Linked DNA regions of Homo sapiens: all the other regions are linked to region 3. The links are contacts of gene promoters, found by promoter capture Hi-C in blood cells and fetal thymus (Javierre and others, 2016). All regions are on one chromosome and are shown on one strand. The core of a region is centred on a gene start or on the middle of the fragment in contact, and the rest is flanking DNA. Distances in the headings are between cores, read along the strand shown. Region 1 overlaps RPS6KA2 (ribosomal protein S6 kinase A2). Region 2 overlaps SFT2D1 (SFT2 domain containing 1). Region 3 holds the start of CEP43 (centrosomal protein 43). Region 4 overlaps MPC1 (mitochondrial pyruvate carrier 1). Region 5 has its middle 27 kb from the start of PRR18.

The links. Contacts are between HindIII fragments. The CHiCAGO score rates a contact against its expected background, and 5 or more counts as called.
Region 1: a contact is called between a fragment that was not itself captured here and the fragment with the promoter of CEP43 in region 3, in 7 of 17 cell types (total CD8 T cells, naive CD8 T cells, fetal thymus and 4 more). The highest score is 14.5, in total CD8 T cells.
Region 2: a fragment that was not itself captured here is called in contact with the fragment with the promoter of CEP43 in region 3 in 1 of 17 cell types (non-activated CD4 T cells); the score reaches 5.7 in non-activated CD4 T cells.
Region 4: a contact is called between a fragment that was not itself captured here and the fragment with the promoter of CEP43 in region 3, in 8 of 17 cell types (monocytes, erythroblasts, naive CD4 T cells and 5 more). The highest score is 7.9, in monocytes.
Region 5: a fragment that was not itself captured here is called in contact with the fragment with the promoter of CEP43 in region 3 in 4 of 17 cell types (non-activated CD4 T cells, total CD8 T cells, total CD4 T cells and 1 more); the score reaches 6.2 in non-activated CD4 T cells.

The regions. Positions count from the first base shown.
Region 1 is chr6:166,407,001-166,412,368 of GRCh38, reverse strand. It overlaps RPS6KA2 (ribosomal protein S6 kinase A2), which reads left to right. Exons shown (of 21, transcript NM_021135.6): 21 at 1-3,005. Among named protein-coding and RNA genes, the nearest start is that of MPC1-DT, 27 kb to the right of the region's middle. The HindIII fragment of the contact is 742 bases long and covers 1,242-1,983 here.
Region 2 is chr6:166,330,276-166,335,470 of GRCh38, reverse strand. All of the region lies in intron 1 of SFT2D1 (SFT2 domain containing 1), which reads left to right. It also overlaps the pseudogene HNRNPA1P49. Among named protein-coding and RNA genes, the nearest start is that of SFT2D1, 9.7 kb to the left of the region's middle. RefSeq lists an enhancer at 1,802-1,851. The HindIII fragment of the contact is 4,577 bases long and covers 1,343-5,195 here.
Region 3 is chr6:166,997,241-167,002,302 of GRCh38, reverse strand. CEP43 (centrosomal protein 43) reads right to left here and starts at 2,906. Exons shown (of 13, transcript NM_007045.4): 1 at 2,789-2,906; 2 at 2,190-2,243. The coding sequence starts at 2,890. It overlaps MIR3939 (microRNA 3939), which reads left to right and starts at 4,391; the gene lies at 4,391-4,496. RefSeq lists silencers at 2,445-2,534, 2,545-2,704, 2,795-3,314, 3,605-3,834 and an enhancer at 4,375-4,424. The HindIII fragment of the contact is 9,184 bases long and covers 1-5,062 here.
Region 4 is chr6:166,375,773-166,380,726 of GRCh38, reverse strand. The region is part of intron 1 of MPC1 (mitochondrial pyruvate carrier 1); the gene reads left to right. Among named protein-coding and RNA genes, the nearest start is that of MPC1, 4.7 kb to the left of the region's middle. The HindIII fragment of the contact is 1,619 bases long and covers 873-2,491 here.
Region 5 is chr6:166,278,306-166,283,627 of GRCh38, reverse strand. No RefSeq gene overlaps it. Among named protein-coding and RNA genes, the nearest start is that of PRR18, 27 kb to the left of the region's middle. The HindIII fragment of the contact is 2,671 bases long and covers 1,319-3,989 here.

The DNA.
Region 1 (5,368 bases), core at 363-2,862, 590 kb after region 3:
CCCGGTGGGAAAGTGGCAGTGCGAGGGCGCAGCCATTGGTGGTTGCAGGGCCCCAGAGGGCTGGGGTGACCTGGCATCCCGGGGCTCCCCACGGGCTGGATGACGGGGTTGGCACTGTGGCGTCCAGGAGGAGATGCCTGGTTCTGCCCAAAATAATCCAAAGAGCCGTTTCCTCCTCGCCCTTCAGTTTTTGCCTGAGGTGCTGGGTAGCCCATCCTTTCCTCTGTCCCAGATTCAAATGAGGAGTAAGAGCCCAGACGAGAGGAAGGCAGGCTGGATCTTTGCCTTGAGAGCTCCGTGTCACCAGGATGGAAGGGGGTGCCTCTCGGAGGAGCCTGTGTCCACCTCCAGTCTCGGCTTTCCCCGGGGGGCCAAGCGCACTGGGCTGCCGTCTGTCCCCAGCTCCCGTGGCCACACAGCTATCTGGAGGCTTTGCAGGGAGTCGTGGGTTCTCGCACCTGCTCAGCCCTGTGTCGGCTTCCTGTGTGCTCACCTAAAGCTGTGGTTTTGCTGTGTTCACTTCGATTTTTCTGGTCTGTGGAGAAACTGTGAATTGGAGAAATGGAGCTCTGTGGCTTCCCACCCAAACCTTCTCAGTCCAGCTGGAGGCTGGAGGGAGACACAGGCCCCACCCAGCAGACTGAGGGGCAGAGGCACAGGTGGGAGGGCAGCGGAGATCAGCGTGGACAGGAGCGATGCACTTTGTAGATGCTGTGGCTTTGTGTTGCGTTTTGTGTCTCTGTTGCACAGATCTGTTTTTTCACACTGATCCGTATTCCCCTGGGTGTGCACACAGGGCGGGTGTGGGGCATTTAGGCCATGCTGTGCTCTACTTCATTGAGTAAAATCGAGTGAGAGGTTCCGGGCAGCAGGATCGACGCCCAGTCCAGCCGGCAGAGGGAACACACGGGTCCTTCATTGTCCTGTAAGGGTGTTGAAGATGCTCCCTGGCGGCCCCCAAGCAGACTAGATGGGAGGAGGCGCCGCTCAGCCCCTCACCCTGCATCACTGAAGAGCGGCGCCTCTGCAGCAAGCAGGGCTTCAGGAGGTGCCCGCTGGCCACAGCCAGGTTTTCCCTAAGAAGATGTTATTTTGTTGGGTTTTGTTCCCCCTCCATCTCGATTCTCGTACCCAACTAAAAAAAAAAAAATAAAGAAAAAATGTGCTGCGTTCTGAAAAATAACTCCTTAGCTTGGTCTGATTGTTTTCAGACCTTAAAATATAAACTTGTTTCACAAGCTTTAATCCATGTGGATTTTTTTTTTCTTAGAGAACCACAAAACATAAAAGGAGCAAGTCGGACTGAATACCTGTTTCCATAGTGCCCACAGGGTATTCCTCACATTTTCTCCATAGAAGATGCTTTTTCCCAAGGCTAGAACGACTTCCACCATGATGAATTTGCTTTTTAGGTCTTAATTATTTCACTTCTTTTTAGAAACTTAGGAAGAAGTGGATAATCCTGAGGTCACACAATCTGTCCTCCCAGAAATGAACAAAAGTCATCACCTTTTCTGCTTGCTACACAGGCAACGATTCCCCCATCAGCTGCCCGGACCCTTTGGCCTGGCTTGGTGTGCAGGCCTGTCTGTTTGCTTAAAGTCAGTGGGTTCTGGTGCAGGGAGTGAGAAGTGGGGGAAGTGAAAGGGAAAGCATCCGTGAGAAAGCGGCCACGGTTTTCCCTCCTTGTGTGCCCATGGGGCACCAGCTCATGGTCTTTTTCAGTCATCCCAGTTTGTACAGACTTAGCTTCTGAACTCTAAGAATGCCAAAGGGACCGACGAGACTCCCCATCACAGCGAGCTCTGTCCTTACATGTATTTGATGTGCATCAGCGGAGGAGAACACTGGCTTGGCCCTGCTCCGCTGAGTGTCTGTGAAATACCTCTACTTTCCCTCCCATATCCAGAACAAAATGATACTTGACATCCTTCCACAAAAGTCAGCCTAAAGAAGTTATGGTATCATATGTTAAACTAAGCTTTCAAAAACCTTAGTGAAATAGCAAGTGACTGCTTTCAAGCAGCAGTCGACATGTAAATGAAGGTGTTCTTAGAATTCGCATTTTGCCAGCTCAGCGCACCTCCACAACGAATGAAATGCTCCGTATGATTTGCACAAATGACATAGACCTCCCCAAAAGTTAACTGGCTCTCCTTCCTCACACAGTTCATCATAACCCAACCCCCCACCCCCGGGTCATGAAAATCACAGAACTTATAAACACATTGAACCCTAGATCTCAGGCTTCCTGACCTACCGCCAGTGGCCCCTTGCTGGCCACCCTATAGGGTCCTCCTTCCCTGGCAGCCCCCCATGTGGGAGAAATACCTGATTCTCCCAATCTGCAGTGGGAGAGCTTTGCTGAATTCCATCCCAAAGTCAAACATGGGCAAGAGGTGAGGATTTCACTTTTACCCTCAAGTCCGATTTGTCTGTGATTTTAAACTAACTGTGTATGTATTGATGTTTGGAAGATTGTTTGAATTTTAAAGTGATAATAGTACTTAATGTTATCCAGTATTGTTCATTAAATGGTGTTATCCTAAAGCTGCACTTGGGATTTTTACCTAACGCTTTACTGATTCTCTCAAGCACATGGCAAAGTTTGATTTGCACTCCGTTCATTTCTGACACGTTTTGCTGCCTCCTACCTTTCTAAGCGTCATGCAAATTCGAGAATGGAGAAGGACGCTGCCGGTCCCTGAGCGGTGTGGAGAGGGCGGAAGGTGGACTCCAGCGCAGCTTGAGGGGCTGAGGACGGAGGCTGCAGCATCTGTGTCGTTCTACTGAGCACGCTTCTCTGCCTCGCTCCTGACTCAGCACTTTGTTCACTGGCTCAGCAGTTATGTTTACACATCATTTTTATGTTCCTGCTTTGTAATTCATGTTTGAGATGGGTGGCCACTGTACAGATATTTATTACGCTTTCCAGACTTTCTGAATAGATTTTTTTGAATAAACATGGTTTTATGAAGTGTAATCTTTTTCTAGCCTAACAATAACCTTTGGACTTTCTGTGTTGTTACCAATAACAGTCTGGATAGCTCCCCACTCCTCTGGCCCCTCCCGCTGGCTTCAGGTCATGACCACCTCTGCTGCTACCATATGACTCCTCATGGGGAGGTGAAGCAGCATCACGACCACTCCAACTCAGAGCCCTGTGCGTGGGTGTGTGCAGGTGGGTGAGCTCATGCATATGTGTGTATGTACATATGTGTAGGTGCACATGTGTGCGTGTGTAAGTGGGTGAGTTCATGCATGTGTATGCACGTGTGTGTGTGTGCTTGTGTGTGCACATGTGCGCATGTGTAGGCGGGTGAGTTCATGAGTGTGTACACATGTATGCTTATGTGTGTGTGCACAGGTGTGTGGGTGGGTGAGTTCATGCATATGCATGTGTGTACGTGTGTGCTTATGTGTGTATATGTGGAAGTATGATTTCATGCATGTGTATACATGCATAAACGTGCATGAGAGCACATATGCACATGTGAACATATGGATGTATGTTTATCTGTGTGTGCATTAGGGCCTGTGTGTGTGTGTGGGGGATGCACCCCTGAGAGGAGCCCAGCTGTGTGATGGATCTGGGGCTGGCAGGAGACAGTGGACGGTCATCTTGTGCAGCAAAGCAGGTGCCCAGCACATGGCCCTGGGAATAGGATTTTTACCTCACTGTGTCTCCTGTGCTTTGCCACCTGGCCTCAGCATGCCCATCCCTTCTTAATACAGACATAAAGCCAGTCTGCACTGTTGGTCCTTGGCTCTCCAACCTAATTTCTTCTTCCTATTTGGTAAATTCCTAACCAGCATGTGTCAGCAAGCAGCACACACACACACACACAAAACACCATACTGACACAGGCACACACACACACCTTTGCTCCTGTAGTAGGATGCCCCATTTTCTGAGCTGCTCTCCCAGCAGGGTGAAGGGGGCCTTGCTGAAATCTGTGAGACTCACTGTGTAGGCAGGAGCCCTGGATCCCACTGAGGAAATTGCAGGACAAACAATAGATGCAGAAGAAATCCTGCCTCCTGCTGTACCCAGAAGTGCCCAAAAAATGCCTACTGAAAGAGGCATCATTTGAAAAAAATGCCTCTTACATCCTCTGTGTATCATTTTCTATATCTGCCATAGCAAATCTAAAACAGCAGCATATTCTACTGTCTTACAGCTCTGTGGGTCACACGTCCAAGACAGGGCTCTCTGAACTAAAACCGGTATGTGGGCAGGGCTGCCTCCTTCCAGAGGCTCTCAGGGAGAATCCGATTTTCTTCCAGCTTCCAGAGGCCATCTGCGCTTGGTGGCTCGTGGTCCCTCCCTCCCTCCTGCAAATTCAGCAGTGGCAGGTGGAGTTCTCACACCCTCTCCTCCGCCCAGCCCTCCTGCCTCCCTCTTCCAATTCTAAGCCCTGTGAGCACACTGGCCCACCAGGATATTTGGGAAACTCTCCCTATTTTAAGGTGGTCTGATTAGCACCCTGAATTCCACCAGCAACCTCAGTTCCCCTTTGTCACAGCTTCCAGGGATTAGGACGTGGACTTTGGTGGGGGGGATGGATTATCCCGCCTGCCGCATACATGTAGTTGAGCGTGGCTCTGCGTACACTTGTCCACCTGCACATATTTTTTTGGTTGGGGAAGACAAGCTGTCCAGACTGAAGTAAGTCTCTGAGGCTTGGCCCTACTTGCAGGCTCACGGATGCTGGATGAAGGCACAAGACTTCTAGGTCACAGACCTAGCAAACAGCTAGGCCCAGCAAACAGCATGGGCCCCGCACACATCGGTCCCTGTGGGCCCCAAGCCTTATGGGTTGGTGGACAGTGGCCCAGGTGGACATGCTGCACACGTTGAATTTGCATCACAGATGAGGACCCTGACTTAGGAAACCCTAATTGTTCATGGAGGGATGCAGGCAAACCCACCCCCCATTGCCCTGGAAGGGGACACCCGATTACAGTGGACAGGAAGACGCCTGCCCTTGGCCACAGAGAGAGATGCTGCCTCTGCCTCCCAGGGCTGTCTACTACACAAATGTCCTTGGAAAGACAGTTCAGAGCCAAAGCAGCTAGAGACCGCAGAAAGGCAAGAGACCCATGGAGAATTGCCTCCCAGTGGCTCAGTGTTGTAACGCTGGACCCCAAATGCTGAACTGAATATCGTCTAAGAATCCACTGACAGGCCTGGAGAGGAGAGTTGGACTCACACTTGGGCTGTCACCTTTATCTGTGGAGAAACTCAGCTTAATGCTCAATCTCAGATGCATCTGAGGACATAAAGATATTTTTATAGAACTTAAAAGAATCCCCCATACACCTATCATATGTATAATGATAGATATAGATCTGTCATCCTTACATG
Region 2 (5,195 bases), core at 2,382-4,881, 670 kb after region 3:
GGCAAAGTATTGTTCTCCACCACCATAAGGGCCAGAGCTTCTGCCTCCAAAGTTTCCTCCCTTTATGGGTCCAAAATTTGAAGGCTGATTGTTGTAATTGCCAAAATCATTGGAGCTTCTGCCACCTCCAGAATTGATTCCATCATTACCAAATCCATTACAGCCATCCCTGCTGCCACTGTATCCACCGCCACCGCTGTGGACAGCTGCCACCAAAGCCATCATGACCACTGAAATTTCCTCCATGACCGAAGTTGTCATTCCCACCAAAACCACCTCCACAACCACCACCAAAGTTTCCAGAAGCACTTCGACCTCTTTGGCTGGATAAAGCACTAGCCATCTCTTGCTTTCACAGGACTTCCCTAACTTCACAGTTTTGGCCATTCACAGTATGGTATTTCTGAGTGACAGTCTTGTCCACAGCGTCGTGGTTGTCAGAGGCACGAAGGCATAGCCCCTTTTCTTGGCACTACCTCTGTCAGTCATGATTTCAGTCACTTCAGTTTTTCCATACTGTTCAAGATCTCTTAGGCGATGTTCTTCAATGTCTTCTTTAATGCCGCCAGCAAATATCTTTTTCACAGTTGGGCACCTCGTCTTTGAGAATCTTCTCGAGACAGCCCTTTGGTTCCACAACTCTTCATCCACCTTGTGTGGCTTTGCATTCATGGCGCATCCACCTCCTTCACAGCGGCATACAGGACAAACCCAAAGCCCCAGAGTGCTTGGTGCTTGGATCTCATGACTACACAGTCCACGAGCGTTCCCCATCGCTCAGATTGGCTTCTCAGGTTCTCATCAGTTGTTTCAAAGCTCAGCCCTCCAGTGCCGAGATTCCACAGTCGGCCCTCCAGTGAGGAGCTTCCACAGCTGTTTAGGCTCTTTGGGAGACTCTGACTTACACTGGAGTGCAGTGGTGTGATCTCGGCTCACTGCAACCTCTGACTCCCGGGCTCAGGTGATCCTCCCACCTCGGCCTCCCAAGTAGCTGGCACTACATGTGTGTGCCCCCATACCTGGCTAATATTTGTATTTTTTGTAGAGATGGAGGACTCGCCATGTTGCCCAGGCAGGTCTTGAACTGGGTTCAAGCAATCCGCCTGCCTCAGCTTCCCAAAGTGCCAGGATTACAGGCGTGAGCCACAGTGCCTGGCCTATGGTATTTTTGGTGTAGCAGCCAGCACATAGATTTTTAACCAGGAGCTGGATCCCTTACCCAGCACTTAGAACAGGCACATAGCAGCACTCAGTATTTATTGAGCCAGTTAGTGGATGGATGGATGGATGGATGAATGGATGTATGAGTGTACAGAGGCTGGAAGGTGAAGTGAAGTAAGCTTTCTGTTTAAGATGGAAGGGACTTCATGTTTAAAAGTTGATGGATGCATTTTCAGAGAGTGAGAACATGTTCACTAGAGGAAAAAGCCCAATAGCATCAATTCCCTGAGCAGGTAAGGGGTTGGCTGTAAAGCAGGGTGGACAGGTGGATCTCAGCTCTGTGGGAACCAGGAAAGGACAAGAGCATGGGTGTTCTTAGTTGGTGTGTTTGGTGGTTTGGTGGTTTGGTGGCAGCAGGAAGGTAAGGGAGTTCACACTGATGGCTTTGGGTTTCTGTGTGTGAAGTAGGGGAAGTTGTCTGCTAAGAATGGAAGTGTGGGGCAGGAAGTGGAGGTTTGAAGTGGTTTAGAGTAAAATGGACGTTGAGATAAAGCAAGAAGCCTTAGATTGCCAGGCAGCAATGTGCAGGCCATGGGGGGCTGATGAGGACTGGCTCAGGACCCCCCTGCCCTGTGCCTGACTCCACCCAGCAGTGCTCAGCTCAGCACCTCCTGGAGCAGGAGGAGGGAAAGCTGCACTCCGGTGGGATTTTACCAGGTGGAGGCAGCGGAAAGGGAATTTGAATGTCCTGTTGAAGCCGCTGAAAAAACGGAGAAGGGCCGGATGAGGAGTTCAGGAGGCCAAGGAGTCAGCACGGTGGGGCCGAGGAACCAGCCTGCTGCCAGAAGAAACGGGTCGGAGAGCGGCAGCCGGAATTTTGGCGATGGTGTAATTTCGAGCAGGAAGACTGCCCTGGGCTGGGTCACTGAGTGGAGTGGAGGGGAAAGGCCAGTGGAGATCAGGGGATGCTGCACAGAAAGGCCAGGCTGCCCACGCACACGTGGAACCCGTGCCGCATGCTGCAAGGATCTGGATAGGCCCCGCGATCAAGAGTCCTGAATGAGAAGGAGAAAGTGTGGACCCCAGCAGCGGGTGTGGGGAGCGGGCGGTTCTGCCTGGAATGGGCCTGAGGGTCTGCGGATGTCTGTTTCTTTTTCTCACTTGTCTGCACAACTTTGACTTTTTATACCCACTGCTATTTTGAAAAAGGAGTGGGAGGAATACTGGATTCAGTGTCATCATTAGTGGAAAGCCACAAGTGTTTCCTATGTTTAGATGGCAGAAGCCCAGGGGCAAGGCTCAGGTCCTTCCAGCTGTGCTGTCTCCTGGCGATCCGTGGATTAGAGCTGTTCCTCAGCTTCTCCGTCACTTAAAGGGGTGGGTTTCGGCTGTGCTGTGGGAGCCACTCATTCAGCCTTCATGTTGTTGCTGCTAGGACTACATTTTCCTCTATTATGTTTCTCACCTGCTTTTGTAAAAAATTAATGAATGAAGTTCTAGTTGCAAGCAGTGCTGTGCTTACTGTGGCGGGAATAGGGGAGCAGCCCCTCCTCAAGGGCCTGTATTCTCTTGGCTTCCTCTTCCTCTGGTAGCAGATAAGTAAAATGATGGATGGTGGTTTTGGGAGAGGAAGAGGTGGCAATTTTATTTCTTTTCTAAGACTAAGAGATTAACAAAGTTGCTGGTTTTGGTGGGATTGCTCCTGATTGGTGGTAAAAGAAAGCAGCACATAAATGCTTATGATAAGCAGGCTGGGTGCAGTGGCTCGTGGCTCATGCCTGTAATCCAGCACTTTGGGAGACCGAGGCGGGTGATCACTTGAGGTCAGGAGTTTGAGACCAGCCTGGCCAACATAGTGAAACCCCGTTTCTACTAAAAATACAAAAAATTAGTCAGGCCTGGTGGCGTGGACCTGTAGTCCCAGCTAATTGGGAGACTGAGGTAGGAGAATCACTTGAACCTGGGAGGCGGAGGTTGCATTGAGCTGAGATGGCGCCTGAGCAACAGAGTGAGACTCTGTCTCAAAAAAATGCTTGTGATAAGCAGACGTCAGGGTTCCTTCTGTCTCCTAGTTGGAAGATGCACTGCCAGGTTTTCTTTCATGTTGAAGCATATCACAGTTTTCCCAATTAGGAGTCAGGAAATCTGTATAGTTGTTTCGTATCCTAGACAATTTGCAAGACTTGAGACAAATCATTTGCTTGTGGATTGAATATTCCATGTTTACAAGTGGAAATAATTTGTCCTGCTGTTTCGTTTTAAAGATCAATACACGGAAGATGGCAATAGGAGGAAAAAATACCTACTATTATACAAATAGCCGTGCTGTTTCCTTGCTGAGAGAAAAACTGGCTATTGAAAAGCAGCGATTGAACTTGTGAACAATGGGGTGATTTGAACTTGGAAAAGAAGGAAAAATGGATGCTTTTTCCTCTCACTAAATCCTCACAGCATTGTGGACTCACACGAACCTTTAGAAATCATTATTCTTTCCATTTTTAATTGACAAATAAAAGTTATATACATTTATTGTGTACAGCGTGATGTTTTGACCTATGTATACTTTGTGGGATGGTTAAATGAAGCTGATGGGCGTGTCTCCATTTTTTTTAACAGATCATTTACTATGTAATTCAGTCTTTGCAGTTTATTCTGGCCTGCGTAGTTAAAATATACTTAGTGTATATTCTTCCTGATCAGTAAGAATGAAATGTAGATGTTTTTATAGGCAATTTCACTCTTTGTTTAAAACCAAGTGTTTAGTTTTGCCATAAACAGATGACATTGCTGGAAACAAGAATGTGAATTAAAACTTAAAAAACATTTAAAATGTGTTAAAGAGTGATATATGTTTCATTACAGAATACTTAGTTATTTTTATCTGCTTTTCATGCTACATAAGGATTCACAGATTAATCTCTTGAGGTAAGGAATGTAACCAAATGTATTTTGAACTGTTGCATATAGAACTTTCTCTTATTTTTCATTATTCTTGAAAATATAAGCATGTAGTCTTATTTTTAAGTGGATGTGGTAGTATAAATTAGAAATTTAAGTTTTGGAATATAAATCCTTGCTGTATATTTCTAGTTTCTTGCACAGCTGCTGTTGATAGATACTTTTTTAGCCTTATTTGGAAAATATATTTTAATAGTATAATTAGTAATCTGAGTGTGTTTATTTCACCACTACTGTGTGCTGGGTTATCATACTGTACAAAGTAGACTTAGTAATTTCTACTTTTTTCCCCACATAATTTGGCTAGAATTTGCATGGTATATAGGAATGCTGTTGCTCTAGAATAAATGATCATTTCACAGTATGTTTTTACAGTGGTGGAGGAGGGGCCCAAAACTTTCATGGGTTGGACTGAAAGAGCTTAGAACGGGTACCGTCTGGTGCGTGCTGTGATCGTCTCTGCTGGGGCTGCTCAGGCTGCCTCCTGTAGGTGGCCAGCGTCCTCTACCCTCCATGGGGTGCAGTCACCCCACCCCACCCCTGGCCTGCAGCCAATGACCGGCCGAAGGGAGGTGGCGTGTGGAAGGCCAGCCTCTGCCTCCAGCAGGACTTGCACTGAGTGCGGATGCACTCGGATGCACTCAGACTCTGGCATCTAGGAGCCTGAGGAATTCGTCCTGCAGAGGCAGAGAGAACAGATAATGAACCTGTGTACTCTTTCCCAGCCTCTGCAGTTTCAGTGTTTTGCCTGGCCTGTTGCATCTGCCCCCTGTGTTTTTTTAATCTTTGTATATTTTATAATATATCTTATATGTCATTTTATCCATATCAGTGTATATCGGCTGTCCCTAACAGATAAGGACTTTTGTGAAACATATTATCAGACTTTGCAAAATTAATGGTTATTCCTCAGCATCATCTGCTACCCAGACCATGGTCATATTACCCTTAACAACCGTGGAATCTTAGTATTCTTGAATGACACTGTGATATGCAAAATAAATGATTCAGACTATGTGTTAAAACTTTGCTTTAATTTAGTATAAAGAATCAGATTGGTAGTGAATTAAGACTAT
Region 3 (5,062 bases), core at 1,657-4,156:
ATGAATTTCAAATGCATTATGTTGAAGAAACAGACCAAAAAAAAAGAGTACCTACTATACGATTCCATTTATATAATTCTTAAAAAGGTTTGGGGTGGGGGAGAGGGTTACATAAGGGGCACAAGGAAAACTTTTGAAGGTCAAAAGTTTGAAGGATATGCGCAGTACCTTGATTGTGATGATCATTTCACAGCTGCATAAATTAACTATTAAAAATCAAATTGTACATATTAAATACTTTAGCTTTACTATAGGTCAATTTTACCTCAATAAAGTTGTTAAAATAAAAGACAAGGAGAGGAGAGATCCTCAAGGTAGTTGGTAGGCTGGTTCAGGGAATTCTAAGATAGGGAGTCAACTGAAATATTTTAAGAGAATGGAGGGACAGATCAGATGTGTACTATAAACAGCCAATCTAGGAGCAATGTGGAAAAAGGACTTCAGGGAGATGGTGAGGGACACCACGGAAACGGAGACTGGCAAGTAGGAAGGGGATAAGGCAATCTGGAAAAGAAGAAACAAGCACAAAGGAGGCAGCAGAGCACTCCCTTGGGGACACTTCAGATACACACCTGACAGACACAGAGCCAGGTGATGGCTGAGCAGGTGGAAAGAAGAGCAAGGCCTAAGAAACGCTTAGATTTCTTGCCAGATAAATGATGGTCCCATTAAGGGCATAATACAGTGGGCAGTTTAACATACAGGTCTGAAGCTCGGGAAAGAAACATGCATGAAAGTTACAGGGCTGGAGTTACTGGATGAATAAGGTCAGTCTGTGAGACAGTACAGAATGACAACTGTGGATAAGTCTCAGTCAGGTGTACAGGAAAAAGATCATGCTAAAGAAACCAAGGAGTGGTCAAAACCAGGTTGTGAAGGAAAAAAACCACAGCGGTATTAAAAGCAGAATGTGAGTAAAGGAAAACAGTTTACTCCTAATAGTTATTTAAACATGTTTTCAAGCTCAAAAGAAAAGCCATCAGAAAAGGAAGGGGTCAAAGATACAGTAAATAATTAAAGACTTGAAAGTATACACAAGACAGAGTGATTATTCTTGGACAGGACAGAGCCTCTTCTTCTAAAGCAGTAAGGAAAGAGGTACAGATAAACATAGACACAGGTAAGCATTTTCACAGGTGAGCAATAGATTGAGGGACAGGAGAGGAGGACATAAAGTTAGGATCTAATGGCTTCTACCTTCCCTGTGGAGGAAGCAACAAGACCATGTGTTCAGAGAGAAGGAAGCAGGGGTGACATAGAAGGCTACTGCACAGCTAGGGTGAAGAAGAGAGCTGCTGGGCCTGCTCAGGACCTAACCAGGTTGGTACCTGCCAATTTGCAACATCAGCAATCCACAGGATTGACTGACTCTTCTCCAAGAGCACATATGTGCAAAGTGGGAAGAGTTAGTTTGCTGGGTTAAATGACCACTGAGATTTCTTCCAGACCACGTATGACCGTTAAGGCAAGGTAATTAGGGGTCCAGACCCATAGGGTCCAGAGCAAAATGCTGCCAAGAGAAGACTGATGCCTGCACAGACATGGAAAGGGCAAAGAACTGAAGATTTTGATGAAATTAGAGATTAGGTATACAGGTCTAAAGAAGTGAGAGGACAGTAGACTGATTTGTCATACAGCAAGAGTTTAAGGCTTTGATGATGGTTCTATTCTTGTTGACAAATTCCAGAATATTTACTCAGGATGGTTGGTGGGACTCCGAAAAAGTTAAATTACCCACTTAAATATAGAGTAGTGGCTGCACTTTTAAAATAATCGCTGTCTTTTTCATTGTCAAAATAATTGAGTGGTCAGATAATTTTGGGAAAAGTTGCATACTATATACCCCGTTTCATAGGGATTAATAACATATTAGCTTACTAAAGGATCTGAGTGAACCTGCACTTAACACATTGACAATGGCACCATTTCTTCAAGAAACTCCTATGACCATTTGTTTCAGATTAAGCATTAGTATCAGAGTTACTGTGGTACCTTAAGATTACCCCCAAATTCAAAAGCTACACGAAAAAAGAATAATTTTGGCTCTCTCTCAATAGTAATGTAATCCTTAACAGTTCAAAATTATCCCTAGCTATATGTTACTATAAACTATTTTTAAGACGGTTTTTAATGAATAAGAAATTAAGTATTAACGAATACAGCCATGTTAAAATCTGGAAACTTCATACCTCTACTTTTTCTTGCTCCTCTAGTGCTAAAAACACAGCTGCTCGGAGTTCAGCCTTAAAAAAAAGTTAAGAAACAGGAAATTATAATTTCAAGACAATTTTCACAACAAGCTCACATTTATCCAGCAACAAACACGAGCAAGCCAACGAGCTGGGAGGGCAGGTGCAAAGGTCAGAAACGCCTTCCGAAACGTTCTCAGTCACACAAGCTCTCCGACCCCCAGGCTTCGGCTGGACGCGCTGCTTTCCCGCCGCGGATCATGCCCGAGCCTGAGGAAGAGACGCTGGGGCCGCACTCCAGGGCCCAGCTGCGGGCCGCCCGTGTGGCCCCCAAGCCCCGCGGTCCCGCCCCCACGGAATGAGGCAGGGGATGGGCCAGGCACCCCCAGTCCGCGGTGCCCTCCGGGACCACACGAACGAACGAGCCGACCCCCTCTGTGGGGCGGGCAGGACGGAGGCCATGCCGGGGCGCGCCCCCAGTGCCCGCCGGCCCCGGTCCCTCGCCAGGGAGGCGGCCTCCTCGCCGCGACCGTTGTGACGCCCGCTGTCCACGCAAGCCCTGCGGATCCGCCAGGCCCGGCCCCAGCCTCCGGCCTCACCTTGATGCGGTTCAGGACCCCGCTGTTCTCCAGCGTCTGCACCAGCAGGTCCCGCAGCTCCGTGTCCTCCTCGGCCACCACTGCGGCCGCCGTCGCCGCCATCTTGCTTCTCCAAGACAACCGCCGAAGCCGCGCTAACGGCCAACGGCCGCAGCAGGGTACGCTCCGCGCGCGGGCTACGCGGCCGACGCAGCCAAAGCCCCGCCCCGACGCGCAGCGCGCTGGCCCTGCCCCCTGGCGTCGGGAGGCGGGGCATAGAGACCTCGGGGTTGACGCTGGACACCGAGCCTTGGGGAGCGCCGGACCACTGAGCGCCGAAACTTAGGGTCGGCGCTGGGGGCGGGGCTGCGGGGCGCGGGTGGGCACGCAAGGGGCGGGGCGTCGGCGGGGCCTCCAGCCGGCAACCCGTTGGCTGCCGTCGCCTGAGGCGCGAGCTTTGAAGCCGGCGAGCGGTGAGGAGGAGGCGCCCTCGCGTGTGGAGAGCGGACTCCGCCTGGACTCCACCGCCCACGGCCGCATCCCATCGCCGCACAAGATCGCCGGAGTCATATTATCGACGTAGTTAAAGCCCACTAGCCTAAAGCCGGGCGGACTGCGGTAAGGAGGCCCCGAGACCGAACCTGCAGCCCCTGCAGCCCCGGGGGGGCGCCGGGGAAGGGACTCCCGAGAGGTCGCGAGGGGCGGAAGGCCCTGCAGGTTGTCACCCGGAAATAACGTTCTGAGGCCCCCCAGCCAGGCGAACGCACCCTGCTCGGCCACGGCCTCCGAGGCTAACCGGAAAGGTGCCAGGCCGAGGTGCAGGGGCGGGATGGCCCCAGGAAGAGCCGAGGGCCGAGGAGGGCGTTGGGTGGGCTCCGCGCTGCCCGAACTGGGGCCGCAGTCTCCACTCCCTCCTGCCCCGCGGCCCTCCGCCGACAGCCAGGCGCCGGCGGGGAGTCCTGGACCCCTCCCGGGCCCTGGAAGCCCCGTCCCGCCGGAGCTGACGCGCCCTCTTGGTATCCATCCGGCCGCCTGGGCTGCCCCTCGCCCCTCGCCTTGGCAAAACCAGCCCCCGGACCGAGCCCTGCCTTGGAGAGTGTGGGTGCGCAAGGCCAGCCGAGCTGTCGGTTCCGGGGTTTCGGGGTGCGCCACTGTATGGCGGCGTAAGCCGAGAAGTGTCCGAGGCCGGGCTCCAGCAGTTGAGAGGCTGATTTGGCCACGGTGAAGGACGCGCCCGGAGGAAGGAAACGGGAATCCGAAACGGGCGGTGGCCGCGCCTTTCCCGAGGCCGGCGTCGAGGGCTTCAGCGCCTCAGGGTGGGCGGGAGGGGAAGGTCGTGCGACCCGCGTGGCCGGCGGAAAGGAGCAGCGGGAGCCGCGGCCGTAGGGAAGCCACGGGAAGACGGGCGGCTGCGCTGCGATGCGCGGCCCTCTCCCTGAAGCCCTCGGCTCAGGCGCCACAGGAAAGGCTCCTTCGGGCAGGCCTCAGCTTTCAGCTTAAGTTTTTTTCCTTTGGCCGAGTCAACTGCGGTGCCGAGTTGTATTTTCCTTTCAGAGGTGTGTCCGAGAACCATTCTTAGGAGACGCCTGCCGGCCGCTTTGGGATAGGGCCTGTCTGCCCATGCTGGCTTCCAAAGGCCTCTGTGTGTTCCTGTATGTGGGCGTGCACGTACCTGTCACATGTGTACGCGCAGACCACAGGATGTCCACACTGGCTTCCAAACACATCTCTGTGTTTCTGTCTGTGAGTGTGTACGCAGGTGTCAAATGTGTACGCACAGATCACAGGGTGTCCACACTGGCTTCCAAACACGTCTCTGGGTTCCTTTATGTGCGTGTGTATGCACTTGTCATGTGTACACACAGATCACAGGGCATCCACACTGGCTTCCAAACATGTCTCTGTGTTTCTGTCTGTGGGTATGTACACACATATCACATGTGGAAGAGGTAGGAAGAGGCTGGAACAGGTAAGGGTCATGAAGGTGCAGTGCACTATTGTACTGTTTGCGCTTTATATGTGTTTGGTTAGTTTTGCAAGAACATGCTGGTGAAGGAGAGAGAACCCCAAACAATTGATTAGCAGTGCTACTGAAACTCAGATATACACAGGAATGGCAAAGAAACATCTATGAAAAAAAGCAGATTCTGGAACTCCATCTCCCTGAGATTGTCACTCATGGGGTCTGCAGGAAGTTTCAGGAATCTGCATTTTCTTCTAATAAACGTGGTCCACAGGTTATAAGTTGAGATACAAATAGAATATATAAAGTAAAAAAGGAAAATTTGAAGTTTC
Region 4 (4,954 bases), core at 433-2,932, 620 kb after region 3:
TTCAGGTGATCCGCCCACCTCGGCCTCCCAAAGTGCTGGGGTTAGCAGGTGTGAGCCACCATGCCCGGCCCTAACAGTTTCATTACATAGGAAGAATTTGTTAAATATATTTTCAAGGAAGAGAGTTCTGCTTTTCTAAGTGTTATATTTTCTTCTACTAAATGGGTTTCCAAGAGCCAGGCTTTTCAATAGGATACTTCAGTATATCATCTAACCTTTTTTTCTAAAATTAACTTTATGTAGCTTTAAATTTTTATACTTTCTCCAGTATTTAATTCAATTACACTTTGACTAAATAAGGAAAAGAAGAGAATTGCATTACTCGGAACAGTGTTGCCTGGTAGAGCACCACACTAAGATTCAGAAGAATGACTTACAGTCCAGGATCCCCAGCAAGTTGATCCCAGCAGACTTTATTTGTCCATCAAATGGGTTTAATGATAATGCTCTTTTTGGGTTATCAAGAAAATTAAATTGGATAAGGGATGTGAAAATACTTGGAAACTCCAAATCACTCTACATTTTATTATATCCTTCTGTTTTTGCAAGCGAAAACATTTTTTAAAGTTTACAGTTATTTAGAAAGTTAAAATCTTGTGTGAGCTATAAAGCTCTATGATCTTGAACTGAAATTATTTTTGAAAGGTGAACACGTGATGTGAAACATTCAGCTGATCTGTTTACCCTGCCATTCTTGGCAGCAGTGGGAATTCATGCTAGGTCTGCCAAACAGTGATTGAGGGCCAGTTTGAGGTCAGGTATCAACACTCTGACCAGAAGCTTTTTATTTTAGTGTTTCCTGCCCTAGAAAGAGAAACATTTCTTCCTAGAACATATCAGAGGAAAGTACTTCCTATTTGTTCTTCCAAGCTTTACGCTTACAGCCCGGCTTTTCTTTAGCAAAGGAGAATAAAATATAAAGCAGAAAACGTCATTGTATCTCTTTTCTTCTAATCAGAAACAAGGTTCCATCCCTTCCTCTTTTTACTTCATCAGTTGCCTGTTGTACACACTTTGCATCCTCTGCATTCTTTTTGTAGCCTACTGAAGGGGTCTAGAGGTTTTCTCAACTAAAGCTGTTCTAGAATTTTAAAAATTAATAACATAATTGAGTTTTTCAGCATAAATTTAAAATCATATTTTACACAGATTATAAATTTATTTCAATCATGTTTTATGAATCAAGTTGAACATTCTTACTAAACTGAATTTCCAAGTGTATTTATTTATTTAGAGACAGGGTATTACTCTGTCACCCAGGCTGGAGTGCAATGGCATGATCATAGCTCACTGTAACCTCCCACTCCTGGGCTTGAGTGAGCCTCCTGCCTCAGCCTCCCGAGTAGCTAGGGCTACAGGTGTGCACAATCATACCTGGCTAGTTTTTTGTTTTTTCTTAGAGATGGGACCTTGCTATGTTGCCCAGGCTGTCCTTGAACTCCCAGTGTCAAGCAGTCCTCCCATCTTGGCCTCCCAAAGCTCTGGGATTATAGGCATGAACCACTGTGCCCAGCCCATCCACATGTATTTTAAATGATTTTTTTTTATTTCACTGAAAGAGGTTATGAAACAGGCTCTCACTTAGGACACCTAAGAACCAAAGATAATGTGTGGACTTTGATTGGGCCTGGTGTGAAAAAACAGCTGGAAAAGGCATTACTGGGATAACGGAACACTTAAATAGGATCTCAGTATTAAATAATATTAAATAATTATTGACAATTGTTAATTGTGATAATAATACCGTTAAACCTAGGTGATGAGTTTGAATGATGGATTTGAAGCCCAGCTCTTGCTTTCCAGCTTTGTGAGCTTGGGCAAATTGTTTAGCTTTTGTGCTTTCGTAGCTGTTTAATGACATAGTATAGCGCTTGACAAAAGTAAGTGTTCAATTTATTTTTTATTGTAACTAATATTGCATGTTTAATCCCCAGGATTTCTGGTACTCTCTTTTTGGTACTTTCTTCCATCTCTTGTTACTTACCTTGATTAGGATCTTGAATCAAGAACTTCCTGGGTCTCTATTCCAATACCTTTTTCTTAAGAAACTATTCCCTCACCTTTCTTATTGACAGAATAGAAAAAGAGAGCTCTTCTTTGCTTTTCCTCTTCTCTCATTCTCCTTCCTGGATTTCTGGTTAAGAAGAATAAATTAGAATAAGCAAAACAGTTTTGAGGTAGGACATATATTTTAATGATTAACTCAATCAAGGTCTGTGCAGCTTTATTCTAGCGACTTATTCCTCTTCTCAAGTTTGTATATTACAGTAAAGGTGAATGGATACACACACACACACACACACACACATGTATTTGTATATGTGTGCAGAGGATGTTTTCTTAAGAAGAACCTAGATCATAGAGTGCTTTAAAATCAGTTAATCACTTAGTATGCTTATGAATCTGAAGTTAGTGGGATGTTTGCATTGAATATTCTCAAGTTGATCAGGTATTCTAAATTAATTTTAACTTCTGAGTCTCCAGGAAAGCTTTCAGAATTTATACTTACTACCCAGGTGAGAAGTTGCAGTAAAATAAAAGTGAATCTTTCCCAAACTTGTGGAATATTAGAGTTGGAACAGGCCTTAGAAATTCCAGTGCTTCATTTGCCACATGAGAAGGCTGATATCTGAACCAAACAGATAACTTCAGAACCTCTGGATACCAAACTTGTGAAGCTAAAACAGAAATGTCAACTTGGGATTTAAAGGAAAATAGTAATGCATAGAAATGGTTTTGAAAAGAAGGTTTTAGATATTTTTGTGCTCCATGTTTTCCTGCATATGTCTCCCTTTTCTCTGCCAAACTGCTTTTCACACCCGGTCCTTGGACTCTTTGAGCACTTCCCTGCCATATAATTGACTTTCAGAAATTGAATGAAGCTGGAAATGTTGAAGCAGGACTGGCCATAAGAATCTCTTAATATCTGGATAGTCCAGTCACAAAGATCTTTACTGTCATTCAGCTGACTTTTGGCTCGCTAAATATAGCTGAATATCACAAATTCTAATTGTCAAAACCCTCCCTCATTTTAATTTGAACTAGAAAACTAGACAAAATTTGGTAAGAATAAATTTCAGCAAACTGTAGAATTATGATCTAAAATATCTCAAAATTTTATCCCATTTTACTTTGAATAATGTTAGAAATATACTATGCTAGGCTGTCAGTTGGATCCTTTTAGTACTACATAAGTAAGTTATAAATTACTTAAATTGCTCTCAGTACTTTCAGAGAAAGCTAACATTACCATAATTTTGGAAAAATTAGACTGACCTAAAAGCAGCTCCTCTGCTCCTTTTCAAATCTCCTCCTGGTTCAGCCTGCCTGCCTCCACTTCTGCCTCCACCATGTCCATCAGGGTGACCCAGCAGCCCTACAAGGTGTTCAACTCTGGCCCCTGGGCCTTCAGCAGCTCCTCCTACATGAGCAGGCCCAGTGCCCACATCAGCTCCTTGATTGTCTCCCGAGTGGGCAGCAGCAGCACCAGCTTCCAGGGTGGCCTGGGTGCCGGCATGGGTCTGCCACTGCACTCCAGCCTGGCTAACAGAGCGAGACTGTCTCAAAAAAAAAAAAAAAGAATAAATAATAATAATAGTAATTATAACTGATATGCCAGGAAAGGAGGGAAAATGGAATCATATAAAATGCTCATTTAAAACCATAAAAGGCAGAAAAAGAATGGAAGGCAAAAAAAGAACAAAGAACAAGGACAACAAATAGAAAACAGTAACAAATATGGTAAATAGTAATACAACTATATCAATAATCACTTTGAATATCAGTAGACTAAAAGTACCAATTAAAAGACATATTGTACAAGTGGATCAAAAAATAAGACTCAATATACATTGTCTACAAGAAACCCACTTTAAGTGTAAATACACATATAGATTAAAAGTAAATAGGTAGAGATAGGTGTACCATGTTAACATTAATCAAGAAAAGGCGTTGGTAGCTATAGATGGAGCATACTTCAGAGCAAGGAAAATTACCAGGGATAAAGAGAGACATTACATATGATAATGGGATCAATGCTCCAAAAAGACAAATGCAATGGTTAATTTTAGGTGTCAACTTTACTGGGTTAACAGATACCCAGATAGATGGTAAAACATTATTTCTGGGCATGTTTATGCAGGTATTTCTGGAAGAGATTGGCATTTGAATCAGTAGACTGAGTAAAGAAGATGTGCCCTCACCCGTGTAAGTGGGCATCATTAAATCTGTTGAGGGCCCCAGTAGAACAGAAAGGTAGAGAAGAGACAATTTGCTCTCTCTTCTGGAGCTTGGACTTCCATTTTCTTCTGCCATCAGACATCAGAACACTAGGTTCTTGGGCTTTTGGACTCTAGGATTTACACCAGTGGTCCTTCAGGTTCTCAGGGCCTTTAGCCTCGGACTGAGTTACACCATTGGCTCCCCTAGTTCTCAGGCCTTTGGACTCAGACTGAGTTACAGCACTGGCTTTACTGATTCTCCAGCTTGTGAAACTTATTACTTCTATAACAGCATAAGCCAATTTCCATTAAAAATTATATATATATACACACACACACACACACACACACGTATGTGTATATGTATCTATAGCTATACATCTTCTATTAGTTCTGTCTCTCTGGAGAGCCTTAATACAGGTAACAATCTTTAATGTGTATGCACCATTACAGCATTAAAACACATGAGGCAAAAACTGATAGAATTGCAAGAAAAAATAGATGAATCCACTAATATAATTGGAGATTTCACCCCTCCATCATAAATAGACCCGGCAGGTAGAAAATCAGTACGGACATAATTTAACTCAACAAAACAATGAATCAACTGGATATGATGAACATCAGTAGACTGCTACATGTAACAGCAGCAGAATACACATTCTTCTCAAGCTCACATGGAACACTCACCAAGATAAATTATATTCTGGCGAATAGAACACACCTTAACCAAT
Region 5 (5,322 bases), core at 1,405-3,904, 720 kb after region 3:
TTCTTCCTGAGCAATCTTGTTCCTAAAAACTTAGGCATTAAGTAAAATACAGCTAACTCCTCTTGGGTGGTGTCTTCGACTGTTTGTGCTGCTATTATAGAATAAATACCACAGGCTGGGTGATTTATAAATAAAATAAATTTATTTCTCACAGCTCTGAGACTGGGAGGTCCAATACTCAGGTGCCAGCATCTGGCAAGGACCTTTGTGCTGCATCATCCCATGGTGGAAAGCGGAAGGGCAAGACGGCATGGAAGAGAGAGAAAGAGGGAAAGGGGGCAGAGCCCAGCCCAATCCCGAGAGAACCCCTCCTGTGATAACAGCCTTCATCCATTCACTAAGCAGAAGACAGCACGGAAGAGAGAGAAAGAGGGAAAGGGGGCAGAGCCCAGCCCAATCTCAAGAGAACCCTTCCTGTGATAACAGCCTTCATCCATTCACTAAGCAGAAGACAGCACGGAAGAGAGAGAAAGAGGGAAAGGGGGCAGAGCCCAGCCCAATCTCAAGAGAACCCCTCCTGCGATAACAGCCTTCATCCATTCACTAAGCAGAAGACAGCACGGAAGAGAGAGAAAGAGGGAAAGGGGGCAGAGCCCAGCCCAATCCCGACAGAACCCCTCCTGTGATAACAGCCTTCATCCATTCACTAAGCAGAGCCCTCATGACCCAGTCACCTCTTAAAGGCCACAGTCCCCACACTGTTGCACTGGGGATGAAGCTTCCAGCATGTGAACTTTGGGGCACACATTCAAATTATAGCAGATGGAATGACCAGTATGAGTACGAGCCAGAGAGGAATGCTCTCTGGGAATTTTACATTCCACGGGGGAAATAAACATTTTGTTTGACACAAGACAATAATCAAGATACCAATGACTCGCTCTGATTTAGGATCCGGTCCAGAGAAAAGGAGAAACATACTTTTTAAACAAGGTGATAAGATGCCTGTGTGCACAGTTTTCCTGTAACACATCTTGGCAATCAGGAACCTGTGAGTCAGACGCAGGTGCAGTGCACAGGCTGGAGCGAGGCCTGTGAAGATAGAGCTCAGGAGGGCAGCTGCTTAGGGCTCCGCTCATTCTCTGGGCACCAGGGTCTCTACGCAGTTGTCTGTTATGGTCTCATAGCCTCAAAGGATTCAGTTTTGCCTCAAGTCAGAACACTAACGTGACAATACAAAGCCTGGAAGTGATTAAGCCACACTGTGGACTGCGACCTGTGAGTAGTTTTACTTTTCAGTTAATGCGAATCTAAATATTCAAAGATAGAACAATATACTAACGTATTGGTGTGCACTGGGGGAGCTTCTCTTTAAGCTTGTTTCATGAAGAAATACAGAGGCTCTCAGGAAATCATTTTGAAAGAATGAACTTAACGTAAGTGCCCTTCTTTCTAAGAAATTGGTGAACTCCCTTTGAGGGTTGATTGAGCGCAGGTCTCTTTATTTCCGGCCCCCCTTGGACCCTCCTCTTTCTTCAGCTCCATGGATCCTTGGGTTTTCAGCAGACATGATTCTTCAAGCATCTCTTCCTTGCCTTAGCTGCTGAAGGCTGCGTGCAGACAGTGCTGTCTTTTCGTCTGCAGTGGGTTGAGAGCTCATGGTTCTGGTGTACTCCTCAGCTCCCTCTTTGTCAGCCCCATTCTAGGGTGTAGCTTCCTCCAGGGTGCCGTGGCGTTTCCATGGTCTGCGTTGCCCCATTGGCCTCCCCGTAGGACTCCCAGGCTCAATGCCACTTCTCTCTGATCCCCCAGGTGCAGAGGCAGGAGGGACCTCGCACAACCCAGCTGAGAGGATAAAGACTGAGAACAGGTGTCCCAGTGTGCAGAGGCCCTTCAGCTCCATGTTCCTTGGTGGGTTGTTGGCTCCATCCTCACCCTTCACCATCCGCTCCAGCCCCACCCTCGGGCTGCCACTGCCTCCAGTCTTCACACTTGCTCTCCCGTAGACCCCGCAACGCCATTCAGCACAGCTGGGCGAATGCACCCAAGGAGATGGTCCAAACAAAATAATTCAGGAGCTAGGAATTCTGGATTTGAACAGAAAATAGCAGACCTCTCCAGAAAGGCTGGGGCTGAGGGGCTGCAACTGGGGCCTCAGGGGGTTGGTGGGACTTTGAGCTCTTGGGTCCCATGGACATCGCCTTTCCGGACAGCTCAGGAAGACGGCGCTGTTATCCCGCAAAGACCTGCAGTCTCAGAGGACACCATCTGTGGAAATGACTTCTCTGCTGGCTAAGTGCTCGGTCCTTACACAAAATCCCTTCTCACCCCAGTAGTGTGGAGATGAGCCTGGAAGTAGTCATAGTGAGAATAACAAGGTTTGCTTAGCATTGTATGCTTCACAGCTCCTTTTTACATGATTACATCTGATCCCCAGCACAGTCTTGTGAGACATTGTTATTCCCACATTCCCACAAAGACACGGGAGCTCAGACAGGTAGTGCTCCCCTGCCCCCCGCCCTGGTGCTCTGAAGCTCTTCCATTTTTGTTACTACGGAAAAGTCCAAGACTTGTTAGAAAGATGTTCATTGAGAACTCAGATACTCTGAATAATTGCTTCAAGAGCATAGAGTCAAGTTGACATAAAAATATTTGAACTATATATTTTTTATCCGTTTAATACAATTTTATTTAAGATGTTCAAAGTGCATTTCTAGATGCCTTGAACTTGAAGCTATTGCCTCTCATTTTCACCCTTGTTGGGGTTAAAATGATCACTAGAGTGACCATGGTTTTTATCAGCTTATCTGTTACTCCTTCCTCCTCTGACCAGTGTCACACACATTCAATTCAACAAACACCGATTGAGTGCCTCCTGTGTGCCAGGCAGTGTTCTGGGCAGCAGGGATGCAGGCAGAGAACATGACAGTGAAGCAGCCCCGGCAGCGGAGCTTGGGTCTGGTGGAGGGAGACAGCCAGGAAGCCAGCTGGATAAGTTAATTATTTCTAAAGCTATATTTGGAATTGTACAGAAGTAAATCAGGTATATAAACAGTTTGTTAGAATGTAATCAGCAGTATGGAGAAGAATAAAGTAGTGCAGGGAGAGGAGGATGAGGGTGGGGTGAAGTCTGCAATTTTAATAAGGTGCTCAGCAAAGCTCTCACCGAGAGGGGCTGTCCGAGCACAGCTAGAAGGTATGAAGGGGCTGACGGTGAAGGGAGCTATGAAAGAACTTTACGGACCATGAGTCGGGCCTTCTGGGCATGAAACTGAGCTTCAGGGAATGGGAGACAAGGTTAGAGAGAGTGAGGTTCAGTGGCAGCAGATCATAGAGGGCTGGTGGCCTTGGGAAGATGTGAGGGAATTTCTAACAGAACTACGTCTCAGGAGGCTGAATAGGAAGTACAAGAGCTGGCCGGGTGCGGTGGCCCACGCCTGTAATCCCGGTACTTTGGGAGGCCCAGGTGGGCAGATGGGTGAACCCTCATCTCTACTAAAAATACAAAAAAAAAAAAATTTTCTGAGCATGATGGCACGCACCTGTAATCCCAGCTACTCTGGAGGCTGAGGCAGGGGAATTGCTTGAACCCAGGAGGTGGAGGTTGCTGTGAGCTGAGATTGCGCCACTGCACTCCAGCCTGGGTGACAGGGCGAGATTCCGTCTCAAAAAAAAAAAAAAAAAAGGAGCCACTGCACTCCAGGGTGACGACGAGATTCCGTCTCAAAAAGAAAGGGAGTCTGAGAGCTATGTTGAGGACTGGGGGTTCAGACAGAATATGAATTCATTTTATCTTTACCCCAGAGTGTTCTGGAAGTTGTTAAGGGGAGCAGCTTGGGGGCCGTGGTCAGAGTGAGCTCTCTAGGCTCTTCTGGAAGAGCACTGTCCCAGAAGCACCTGGTGCCAGTTAGGCACCCGTGATTTGGCAGCTTAGTAATGGAAAAGGATGGTCAAAGGAACAATTACTCGTGACCAGGAGATCTAGTTGTGTGGGAGGAGAGCACACATGCACATGCACAAACACATGTCTACACAAACACACATAAGCTTGTGCACACATGCATGTACATACAAACATATACAAACATGCACACACAAATCCACACACACATGCACAAATGTGCACACACAAAAATGTGCACACACCTGTACACACAAAATGCACAAACTCACACATGCACAAATGTGAACACACAAAAAATGTACAAGCACACATGCACATACAAAAAGCACACACGCTCACACATGCACAAATATGCAAACACAAAAATTGTACAAATACAAATGTACACACAAAATGCACACACACGCACACATGCACAAATGTGAACACACAAAAAAATGTACAAACACACATACACACACAAAATGCACACAAACACACATGCACAAATGTGCACACACAAAAAAGTACAAACACACATGTACACACAAAATGCACACACTCACACATGCACAAATGTGCACACACAAAAGTACAAACACACATGTACACACAAAATGCACACACTCACACATGCACAAATGTGCACACACAAAAGTACAAACACACATGTACACAAAATGCACACACACTCACGCATGCACAAATGTGCACACACAAAAAAGTACAAACACACCTGCACACACAAAATGTACATACACTCATACGCACAAATGTGTACACACAAAAACATGTAGAAACACACATGCACACATAAAATGCACACACATGCACACATGCACAAATATGCACCTGCACAAATGCACACAAGCACACATACACACAGGCATGCTCACATACACGAGTGCATGCATGTACAGACATGCATAAACATACATGTGAATGCCTGACCATGCCCATGTGCATGTACACCAAACATACACACAAAAACGCACATGCACAGTTAGACAAGTTCAATGACGCAAATATGGCTGAAGTATAAAATCATTACGTCATATTCAGTAATGGGCCACATGACTAGTGATTATGTTTCTGATGTTTGTGAAAAGTACAAGTATTGGAAGATGAGGCTCAGAAAAAGAAACTGTTGTGTTAACCATTGTTGATATCAAAGAATACCTTGACCACAACACGATATCACTTCACACTCATTAGAATGCCTCTAATAAAAAAGATTTCAATTACAAGTGTTGGCTACGATGTGGAGAAATTGGAGCCCTTATATGTTGCTGGTGGGAACGTGAAGTAGTGCAGATGCTTTGGGAAACAATTTGGTGGTTTCCTAAGAAGTTAAACATAGAGTTATCACATGACCCAGAAATTCCCCTTCTAGGTGGAATCAGTTACGCAAGATAACCGAAAATATATGTTCACAAAAAACCTTATATATGATTTTCATAGCAGCATTATTCATAATAGTCAAACAGTGAAAACAGTCC